Linked DNA regions of Homo sapiens: region 1 is linked to region 2. The links are contacts of gene promoters, found by promoter capture Hi-C in blood cells and fetal thymus (Javierre and others, 2016). All regions are on one chromosome and are shown on one strand. The core of a region is centred on a gene start or on the middle of the fragment in contact, and the rest is flanking DNA. Distances in the headings are between cores, read along the strand shown. Region 1 overlaps AFF4 (ALF transcription elongation factor 4). Region 2 holds the start of CARINH (colitis associated IRF1 antisense regulator of intestinal homeostasis).

Region 1 (4,459 bases), core at 450-2,949, 550 kb before region 2:
GCGCGTCCCACCCCACCACCTTCCCGCAAAGATAAGAAAATAAAAAAAGCTAACCCAATCCTAACAAAAATTCCCAGAAATCCATCCGTTTAGTGTTTCTCCTTTCCTCTTTCTTTCCTCAGACGTTCCATCGGCTGATTTGTTACTTTTTCATATCCTCCTCAATTTCAAATTATGTCTAATTAAAGAGAAAATAGGCCCAGATTCTGGCTAACATTACCCAGCTAGTTCTCGCTTTCCTTCTCGCGATCCTGCGCACCTCTCCCACACCCCCACCCCCGCAAAAAAAAAAAAAAAAGAAGGAAAAATTTCCGCCTTCGACTTGCGAAGGGGATTGACTAAAAATGGGAACGTGGGGGTATAATACTCGAATACCCTCCCCTACAACTTCTGAATCGGTCTGTTACCTAGTTATCCCAGTAGCTTGTGCGTGGATATTGATGTTTAGGCCTTTCCTCCAGCTGCCTGTGCTTGGGGTTAATCTCGTAATTGACGTCAGTGCTTTGTTCCTTCTACTTTGCTGTTCCTTCCACTCTTTGAGGATGGATCATGGAGTACAGGAGTTTTGGGAGTAACCTTATTGCCTTTTCGTTTACAAACAGTATTATTTTCAGGAAGTGGAAGTACGAATCTGAAATGTTTGTATATGGAGTTCAAGGCGAAGAGTTCGATTTAGGGTTCTCGTAGTTTTGTCAGTTGTAATTCAGAATTATGCGGTTTCTTCCCTGCTGGCCACATGGAAATTTTATACTAAGGCCAGTCACTTTTCCATTGACCAGTGTTTTTCTTGATGGAATCTAAGCTATAGGTGTCTGTGAATAGACTGTAAATGTAACATAAAATGTGTGCTGTTTTTCGGGCTCAGATATGAAAAGCGCAAAGCTTCGTTTCTGTATTGATTCTGCACTTCATAAAGTGCTTTTTAAAACTTAACTGGTCTTTAACTTATCAAAATTGAAATATTTATGAGAACTTTCTTAATTTGGGATTTGATAAAGAGCCTTTGTGGTCTGTGAGTCTGCCTAGAATCATCTTTGGTCATACGTGCATAAAGAAGTGTTGGCAAGTGGCCACTTGGTTTTCAACAAAGCTGGCTTCTTTAAATTTCTCAGATTCGTTTTCCTTATTATCACTGCATCTTTCAGCTCCTAAATATAAGAAAAATTCCCAGTAAGTTATTTTAAGTTATCTTTCAGAGTTAACTTACTAAAAACCTGGAAGCAGTCAAATTTTTCTTTTTTTATTACCAGCAGTTTCATTCAATTTGCGGTGGTTTGCAGGCTGGTACTTTGATTTTTGTTAACTCTCTAGAAACAGTAGGCAAATTTTACTTTAAATAAAATTTTGCTTCAAGTGGGGACAAGATGGGGTGTCTGAAAAAAGAGCCCAGCTGTGTTAATTGGAACATGATCTACAGTTTGGGAGTGTAAGGTGAAGCTGTGTAATTAAGAATTCTTAAAGATTGAATATTTTTGTTCTGAGTCACTTTCTACTTGTCAGATTCTCACATTCAGGTTGATACATTCTCTTCTGTGTACTCTTGAGTTATTGTACCCTTTTTGTAGCAATATATTCTGCAGCCGGGCCTGGTGGTTCACGCCTGTAATCCTAGCACTTTAGCACTTTGAGAGGCCGAGGTGGGCGGATCACCTGAGGTCAGGAGTTCTAGACCATCCTGGCCAACATAATGAAACCCCGTCTCTACTAAAAATACAAGAATTAGCCAGGTGTGGTGGTGCACACCTGTAGTTCTAGCTACTTGAGAGGCTGAGGCATGAGAACCAAATTAGCCAGACATGGTGGTACATGCCTGTAGTCCCAGCTACTCCAGAGGCTGAGGCACGAGAATCGCTTGAGAATCGCTTGAACTGGGAGGCGAAGGTTGCAGTAAGCCGAGATCACACCACTGGAATGCAGTGGCTCCATCTCTGCTCACTGCAACCTCTGCCTCCTGGGTTCAAGCGATTCTCCTGCCTCAGCCTCCTGAGTAGTTGGGATTGCAGGTACACACTACCATTCCCAGTTAATGTTTTTTGTATTTTTAGTAGAGACGGGGTTTCAGCAGGTTGGTCAGACTGGTCTCGAACTCCTGACCTCGTGATCCACACGCCTCGGCCTCCCCAAAGTGTTGGGATTACAGGCATGAGCACTGCGCCCGGCCAACCTAGGCGATGTCTCAAACAAGCAGAAGCCTACTATATGTTTTGCACTGTAATTTTCTTTTTTTCCCTGTCTCTTGCAGATATTGAGGGATGCATAATAATTTTCTTACAGATCTGTTACAGGGTCTTTGAGGAAGTACTATATTTATTCCTCTTTTTATCTTCCTCAGTATTTTACACAATTACTAGATTGAATTTGAATGTGATAATATTTTGAACTTGAAATTGTTGTTCTATCAACTTATCTAAGATTTCACAAAAAGGTAATGTAAAGAAAGCTGTATGAGCAAAGGATCAGTATTTGAAAGGGAAAAACCTGTCAGTTTCAGAAGATGAGACAGAAGATGAAGCTTTCTAAAAGTTATATATTTTGCCTTTTTTGAGAAGGTAAGGTAAATGCCGTAGTTTTATGTGTACCTGAGAGGAACAAATAAAACAGGTATTTCTTCCTTTGTGGCCATCCACTGGTTTAGAATGGAGTTCAAAATCTATGAGGACTTTTCTTTGTGGTATTTTTAATAAAATCAAAGAGGTATTCTTAAGTATTGAGAGCACACCTGGACAATGACCCAGAAGTACAGCATGTACTATAAAAAATTGATGACTTAGATTTTTTTTTACTTTAGCTTTATTCTACAGATATCTCACTATGAAGACTTTTCTATATGATATAAAGGTTCCCAGCTCTCCTGCATCCTTATTATGTTTTACCCATTCCCTTATTCATTTCCTCTGATAAGTTGGAACAATTCTATTTGATTTCTGGGAGGGTGTTAGCTAGTCTCAGTTATTGTGAAAGAAGGTGTAGTGACTAAAGACTGCCTAAAGCTAACCTGACCTGTTACCTTGCTGCTTTTTCCTTTGGTTTAAGAAAAGCGCTCCTACTGGCCAGGCGCAGTGGCTTATGCCTGTAATCCCAGCACTTTGGGAGGCTGAGGCTGGCGGATCACGAGGTCAGGAGATCGAGACCATCCTGGCTAACACGTCTCTACTAAAAGAATACAAAAAATTAGCTGGGTGTGGTGGCAGGCGCCTGTAGTCCCAGCTACTTGGGAGGCTGAGGCAGCAGAATGGCGTGAACCCAGGAGGCGGAGCTTGCAGTGAGTCGAGATCGCACCACTGCACTCCAGCCTGGGCAACAGAGCGAGACTCCGTCTCAAAAAAAAAAAAAAAAAAAAAAAAAGAAAAGCACTCCTACTTGTTGTTAACTCCCTATACATACCCTTCTTGGTTATTTGAAGTGATACTCTAGTACACGGAAGAGGGCAGTAATATATGTTCCAGTTACTGAGTTTTGGCACATCATCTGCATTCCTGTTTGTCTTGATGTTCATTTTCGCTGGTATCATATCTTGAAAGTTTTAACGATACTGGGGCACAGAAAATATTAGAACCTCCAAATTCAATTCCAGAGTATTCCAAAACATTTTAATACTAGAACTACCTATTCTATTTTTGAAGAAAAAAAATCTTAGCTACCTGCTTTATCAGCTATTCTTTATTTAAAAAAATCTGTAACCTTGCCGGGCCCGGTGGCTCATGCCTGTAATCCCAGCACTTTGGGAGGCCAAGGTGGGCGGATCACGAGGTCGAGAGATCAAGACAATCCTGGACAATATGGTGAAACCCCGTCTTTACTAAAAATACAAAAATTAGCTGGGCATGGTGGCGCCTGTAGTCCCAGCTACTTGGGAGGCTGAGGCAGGAGAATCGCTTGAACCTGGGAGGCGGAGGTTGCAGTGAGCTGAGATCGCACCACTGCACTCCAGCCTGGCAACACAGCAAGACTCTATCTCAAAAAAAAAAAAAAAAATCTGTAACCTGAGGAATGTTCTGACAGAAGGCATTTTATGTAACTTTTTCTCTCTTGGAGTTCTTAATGAACTGTGTTGGTGGCTTTTAGGCAAGGAAACGTAGCTTATTAGTGGATACTGTTTTAAACTAATTACTTCAATAATCATTTCCTAGGACAGGTAAAAGAACTTCATGTATTCTTTTCCCAAGGTTGTTGGGTAGGAGGAATCAGGGACTGACATGAATAGACTGCACTGGAAAGCCAGTATGGTTTGATTACCCAGAGATCTGTTCGGGGACAGGGCTGCCTGGAGTTGCTTTGGGCCTAATAGCTCTCCCAGGATTTTGTCAGTTTGGAGTTGCCTAGTGGGTTATGACTTTTCCTTTTCATGTCATCATTAGGGAAGGGACAGTTTTATGGAGAGATGAGTACCAGCCAATACTCTGTAGAGACACACCTTCTTACCTTTTTGCAGTTGCTTCCATTTCTTCCAATTGGAATA
Region 2 (4,875 bases), core at 826-3,325:
TCCAAGGAGCAGAAAATCTCTATCTTAATGGAGTTGCTTTAGAAAATAGAAAAAAAGAGAAAACATTGCCCAATTTGTTACTTGATTTTGAAATGTTAAATATGGACTGTACAAATAAAGAAAAATACAGGATAGTTTCACTTATAAACATAGATGTTAAACTCCTAAATAAAATATTATCTAATCAAATACGAAAGTGTATTACAAATACATCATGATAAAGTAATTCACCACATTAGTCGATTGTGGAAGAGGTTACTAGTGCTCACCAGTCTCTCGTTCTTTTCCTCCTGGGAACACCACCAGGCTACATTTCCCAGCCACCTTACAATTAGGTGAGACCCATGAGACTAGTCCATGCCAATGGAATGTGAATGGAAGTGCATCTAATTTTCTGGCTCATGAAAACAGCAGCATTTTCTCTATTTTCTTTTTTTCTTTCTTTGTTTTTTTTAGACGGAGTTTAGCTCTTGTTGCCGAGGCTGGAGTGCAGTGGCGCGATCTTGGCTCACTGCAACCTCCGCCTCCCGGGTTCAAGCAATTCTCCTACCTCAGCCTCCCAAGTAGCTGGGATTACAGGCATGTGCCACAATGCCTGGCTAATTTTGTATTTTTAGTAGAGACGGGGTTTCTCCATGTTTGTCAGGCTGGTCTCAAACTCCCGACCTCAGGTAATCAGCCCGCCTCGGCCTCCTGAAGTGCTGGGATTACAGGCGTGAGCCACCGTGCCCGGCAAGAGCAGCATTTTCTAAAAGCAATCAGTACTCAACACCATCCTGCTGAGGTAGGGCAGCGGCGGACTCCATGTTTTGAAACTTAGGAACTTAGACCATCTTTTGTCAAATTCAGATGGTTTTCTCAAAGTAAAGATCATTCAAGTTTTGTTTCAGTAATGGGCCGTATGATCAGATCTGTGTGATTAGGCTGAATTCATTATTATTGAGACAAAAATTGAGTTAAAGGGGATTCTTGGTATTGGCCTGCAAAACCTGTCATAACTTAAATGTAAAGTTTCTGATGATTTAGTCACTTTACTCTCAGCTCTTAGCTCTTTCACTCACCTGTCCTTGTTCTACACAACCTGCCTGATGGGTAACTTGAATACATATTTTCTCTCTTCAGGGGATGGGAACGCCCTAAGGGCAGGGGCTGTTTCCACAGCCCTGGGGTGGAACCCCCTTCCTGCATACCAAGAATGAGTTGGCTATACTTGACGAAGGGCAAAGACAAGGTGGCACGCATCTTTCATGCTTCTGCTGGCAGATGCAGTGGACTGGAAATTTCCTGGTCTGGGAAGGACTCGGTCTGTGAGTGCACCTATCCCTGACATCTATGCTAGCCCCGGGATGGGGGCCCCAGCAGAGTAAGGCCCTGACTTCACATGGACAGGGCCAGGGCAAGGGGGCCACATCCTGGCCTAGTTGCTCTCCATGCCCGTGATCAAGGGAGATGAGCTGCCAGCTTGCTCGGTCAAGGAACACTTGGAAGGCACTCCAAGTGCCCCCAGGTGCACCAGATCTAGGAAACTTAAGCAAACTACATGAGGTATGGGGTGGGGCCCAGTGGGAAAAATGAGTCTGACAGGTCAGAGGGAGTAGATTATGAGCTCAGGTTAGGCATTCTGTTCAGCATTTTACGTACACCCTCCCACTTTTGATTTTTACCAACACCCAGGGAGGTCGGTGCTCTACAAAAGGGAAAGGCGTGCTCAGGTGGCCCGACTTGCCACGGTTCCAGCTCGACCCCGGGCTGCTAGCCCCTTGGCACGCTTGTCTGAGGCCTCCCAGGTCTTCCAGCCTGGCCTGGAGGCTCAAAGCCACGAAACCCAAGGGTGCCGCTTCTCAGGCCCTCCCCGCCCCCACGGCAGAACCCCTGACCCTGCCCGGGTCAAACGCCTGGCGTCGGGCCCGCCGGGTCCGCAAGGAGGAGCCCGCGAGGCGGCCGCGAAGGGGCTGTGCTTACCTCGCCCGGCGCGGGTTGCGGCCCCAGGGCCCGCGCTCCAGGCTGGCGGCCGCTGCATTCTGCGCCCCTCGCCTGAAACGGCAGCTGCGCCAGTCCTGGCCACGACCGCTTTCATTTTCCTCAACGACATCGGCAGGAAAGCGAAAGCGAAACCCTCCGGGAGGCGGGACCGGGGCCGAGCGCGCAGTGAACGCGGGGCGCGCGGCGGGCGCGGGCCGGCAGCCAGAGGCGGGGGCCCCGGGCTCGGGTCTGCGCGTGGCCTGGCCCGGTGGCGTTCGGGGTGGAGCTGGGCCAGCCGAGTGCCCGAGAGCTAGTCCGCCACGCACACCTGCCTCGGCGGGACCCGGGCCCGGGCTGGGCGGGAGGCTGGGCAGGCCCGCCGTAAGTGGAAAGGCGCCCGCGGCGCTTCGGCCGACCGGGACAGGTTCCTCCATCTGCCCTTCATTCAGCGTTTACTTGGGCCTGTGGCTGGCAGCCGGCCCGGGACCTGACCGCTGGCGGCGCCTCGGGCTCTGGCCTGAGGAGGCAGATGGCAGCCTGAGCAACTGGGACCAAGCCTCTGAGGAGTCCCCGTTGGAGGGGACTTGACCATGAGGTACCAGGCATCTCATCTGGGGTCAGCGGAGAACCCAAAAGTCAATGACGTCGGTGAAATGGGGGTCCCTTCATCCGATAAGAGAAACTGGAACAGCAAGCCTATGGTTTGGACTCCCTGGTCTAAGCGGTGCCCATCAATATCTAAACATTTAGAGATTCCAGGTTTCAGTGTCTGGCCGTCTCTTACTGTCAGTGATTTGGGGCAAAATATTCAAGTAGTTAGACTTAATTACTTCCCCTGTGGGATGGGAATAATAATAATCATACCTACTGCCAGAATTTTAGGAATGAACAATAGAAGGAAGAAAATACTTAAAATTTTCTGACAGCCTCTAAGTGGGTTCCTTGAGGGCAGCAACCAAGTCATTTACCTGGATGCTTGATAGACATTCTCTAATGGCCAGTCCATCAACTTGGAGCTATCTCCATGATAACAGGTTAGTTGTCAAAGTTTGGACAATATTATCTGGAGTTTAAAGACTGAGGAAGCCCTGCAATTTTTTTTGGAAGGTGTCTGAAACTTAGCCTGACAATTAGCCCCCACAATTATGCCACGGAACCAGGTTTTTGTTAGAGTGGAGCATGGCCACAACGTTTGATGGACATTCCTACAGCGGTGTTCAGCGCTGGCCACTGAGGTCTGAAAATACTTTTGCAAGCATTTCTATTCACTTGCTTTTAGAAAACATTGGTAAGACACCATACTCCAAACACAGTTTGCCCTGTCTGTACGTTTGTTGCAAAGCAAACATAAAAGTTTTTGCCATAGAGCAAACACAGAGCAGTCTGTTATAACTGGAACAAGAAACCAAAATGAGCTATTAAATCTGCCCAGAGTCACTTTGGTTTACCTGTTTGTAATTTGGGCACATTCCCTGCAAGATGGAGGCCCTGGTCTGTGACTGATGTAGGGGCTTGTATGTGTCCTTGCAATAGTTCCCTCAAGAGCAGGTGGGAAAGTGGGGCAGGCCAAATGATGACCTTAGAAAAACAACAGCCTGTTTCTCTGTCCAGAAGATGCTACTTTTAGTCTGTAGTATGAAGGAAAAAGAAAAAACAAAAAAGGCAAGCCTTGGAGCCTCTTCCTCCTTATAGGACAATTCTTGACTCCAAGATAGCAAAGTAGAGTTAAATCTGCTTCTGCATAAAAACTATGTTTGGGAAGATGAAGATCAGGAAAAGACAGGAAGAGATGTAAGCAGATAAGCCAAATCCTGGTTACCTTTTATAGACATCACACATGTGAACAGAGAGCATCAGGAGGTCAAGGCCGGCCTGATGTTTTTCATCTTGGCAACTTCCCAAGGTCCAGGTTTGGTCCTTGACTTTGTGGGGCCAAAAATCTCATCTGACTTCCAGTGTACCAGAGTCGATTAGCACTGTTGCATAAAGTCAGAATGACAACTGACTGATTTCATTCACTATTTGCTAGAGAAGTGCTATGCTAAATGCATTACATGCATTATTACCTCATTATTTCTCCCTACTATCATGTGGTATATTATAATCTATTTATTTTTCATTTGGGAGAAAAAAAGATGAAGGAAATCCCAAGGTCACATAGTTACTATGTATGTTAGTGGCAGGGTTTGAATCAAGGCCATCTGACCCCAAAACCTGAAGCTTATCCATTCCTGTTAGAAGCAAGACTGTCGGGAACACTGGACTCGAGGCCACCTGATGAACACATTCTCTTCTTGTAGCCATGCAGTTTGGAGCCCCATAGTCAGAAGGTGGCTTAGTGAGCCTAAAATCAGAATCGGAAGAGTGAATTGTCTGACTTAAATGTTTGATGATATCAGGCTCGGGCAATGTGGGATGTCTCTTTCCACAACACAGGTCAAAACCTATAGGAAGTACTGTTCACTCATCCCTGCTGGCCTGGCCAGCCCTTCTCCCTAGATGGGGCCTGGTGGACACCATCTGTTTGTGTCGATGAGGCTCTCTGTATTATGGTACCCAGGCCGCCTCTCCTCAGATGGACATTTTTAGATAGAGCAAGGCGTTACTGAGTAACATTACTCAGTAAGGTCTCTCAGCCCTTATTTTTCTTTATGGAGACATTTTGTATCTTTGCTCTGATTGGCTTGATTTATAATTTAACTTCTAAAGGACAGCTTTCTATCCCACCTTTTGGAGACAGCTCTGTTTTCCTTACTATCCTTCCTGATCTAACCCTGGAACAAAAGTTTGTGCAGTAGCAAGTTCTGCAACAAGAACTTTATCCAGGCCTGCACTGATAGTCAGTAAAGACACAAAAGAAGCAAAAGTCCAAGTCCAAGGCCAGTCCCAAAAGACTTTACTACAGAATCGGGC

The links. The method cuts DNA at HindIII sites, captures the fragments that hold promoters and counts their contacts. A CHiCAGO score of 5 or more calls a contact.
Region 1: a contact is called between a fragment that was not itself captured here and the fragment with the promoter of CARINH in region 2, in 1 of 17 cell types (fetal thymus). The highest score is 7.1, in fetal thymus.

The regions. Positions count from the first base shown.
Region 1 is chr5:132,958,644-132,963,102 of GRCh38, reverse strand. The region is part of intron 1 of AFF4 (ALF transcription elongation factor 4); the gene reads left to right. Among named protein-coding and RNA genes, the nearest start is that of AFF4, 2.8 kb to the left of the region's middle. RefSeq lists a silencer at 1-14 and an enhancer at 1,941-2,442. The HindIII fragment of the contact is 1,630 bases long and covers 885-2,514 here.
Region 2 is chr5:132,408,129-132,413,003 of GRCh38, reverse strand. CARINH (colitis associated IRF1 antisense regulator of intestinal homeostasis) reads right to left here and starts at 2,075. Exons shown (of 4, transcript NR_161242.1): 1 at 1,963-2,075. RefSeq lists silencers at 1,777-2,066, 2,137-2,436 and an enhancer at 2,677-2,726. The HindIII fragment of the contact is 5,230 bases long and covers 1-4,184 here.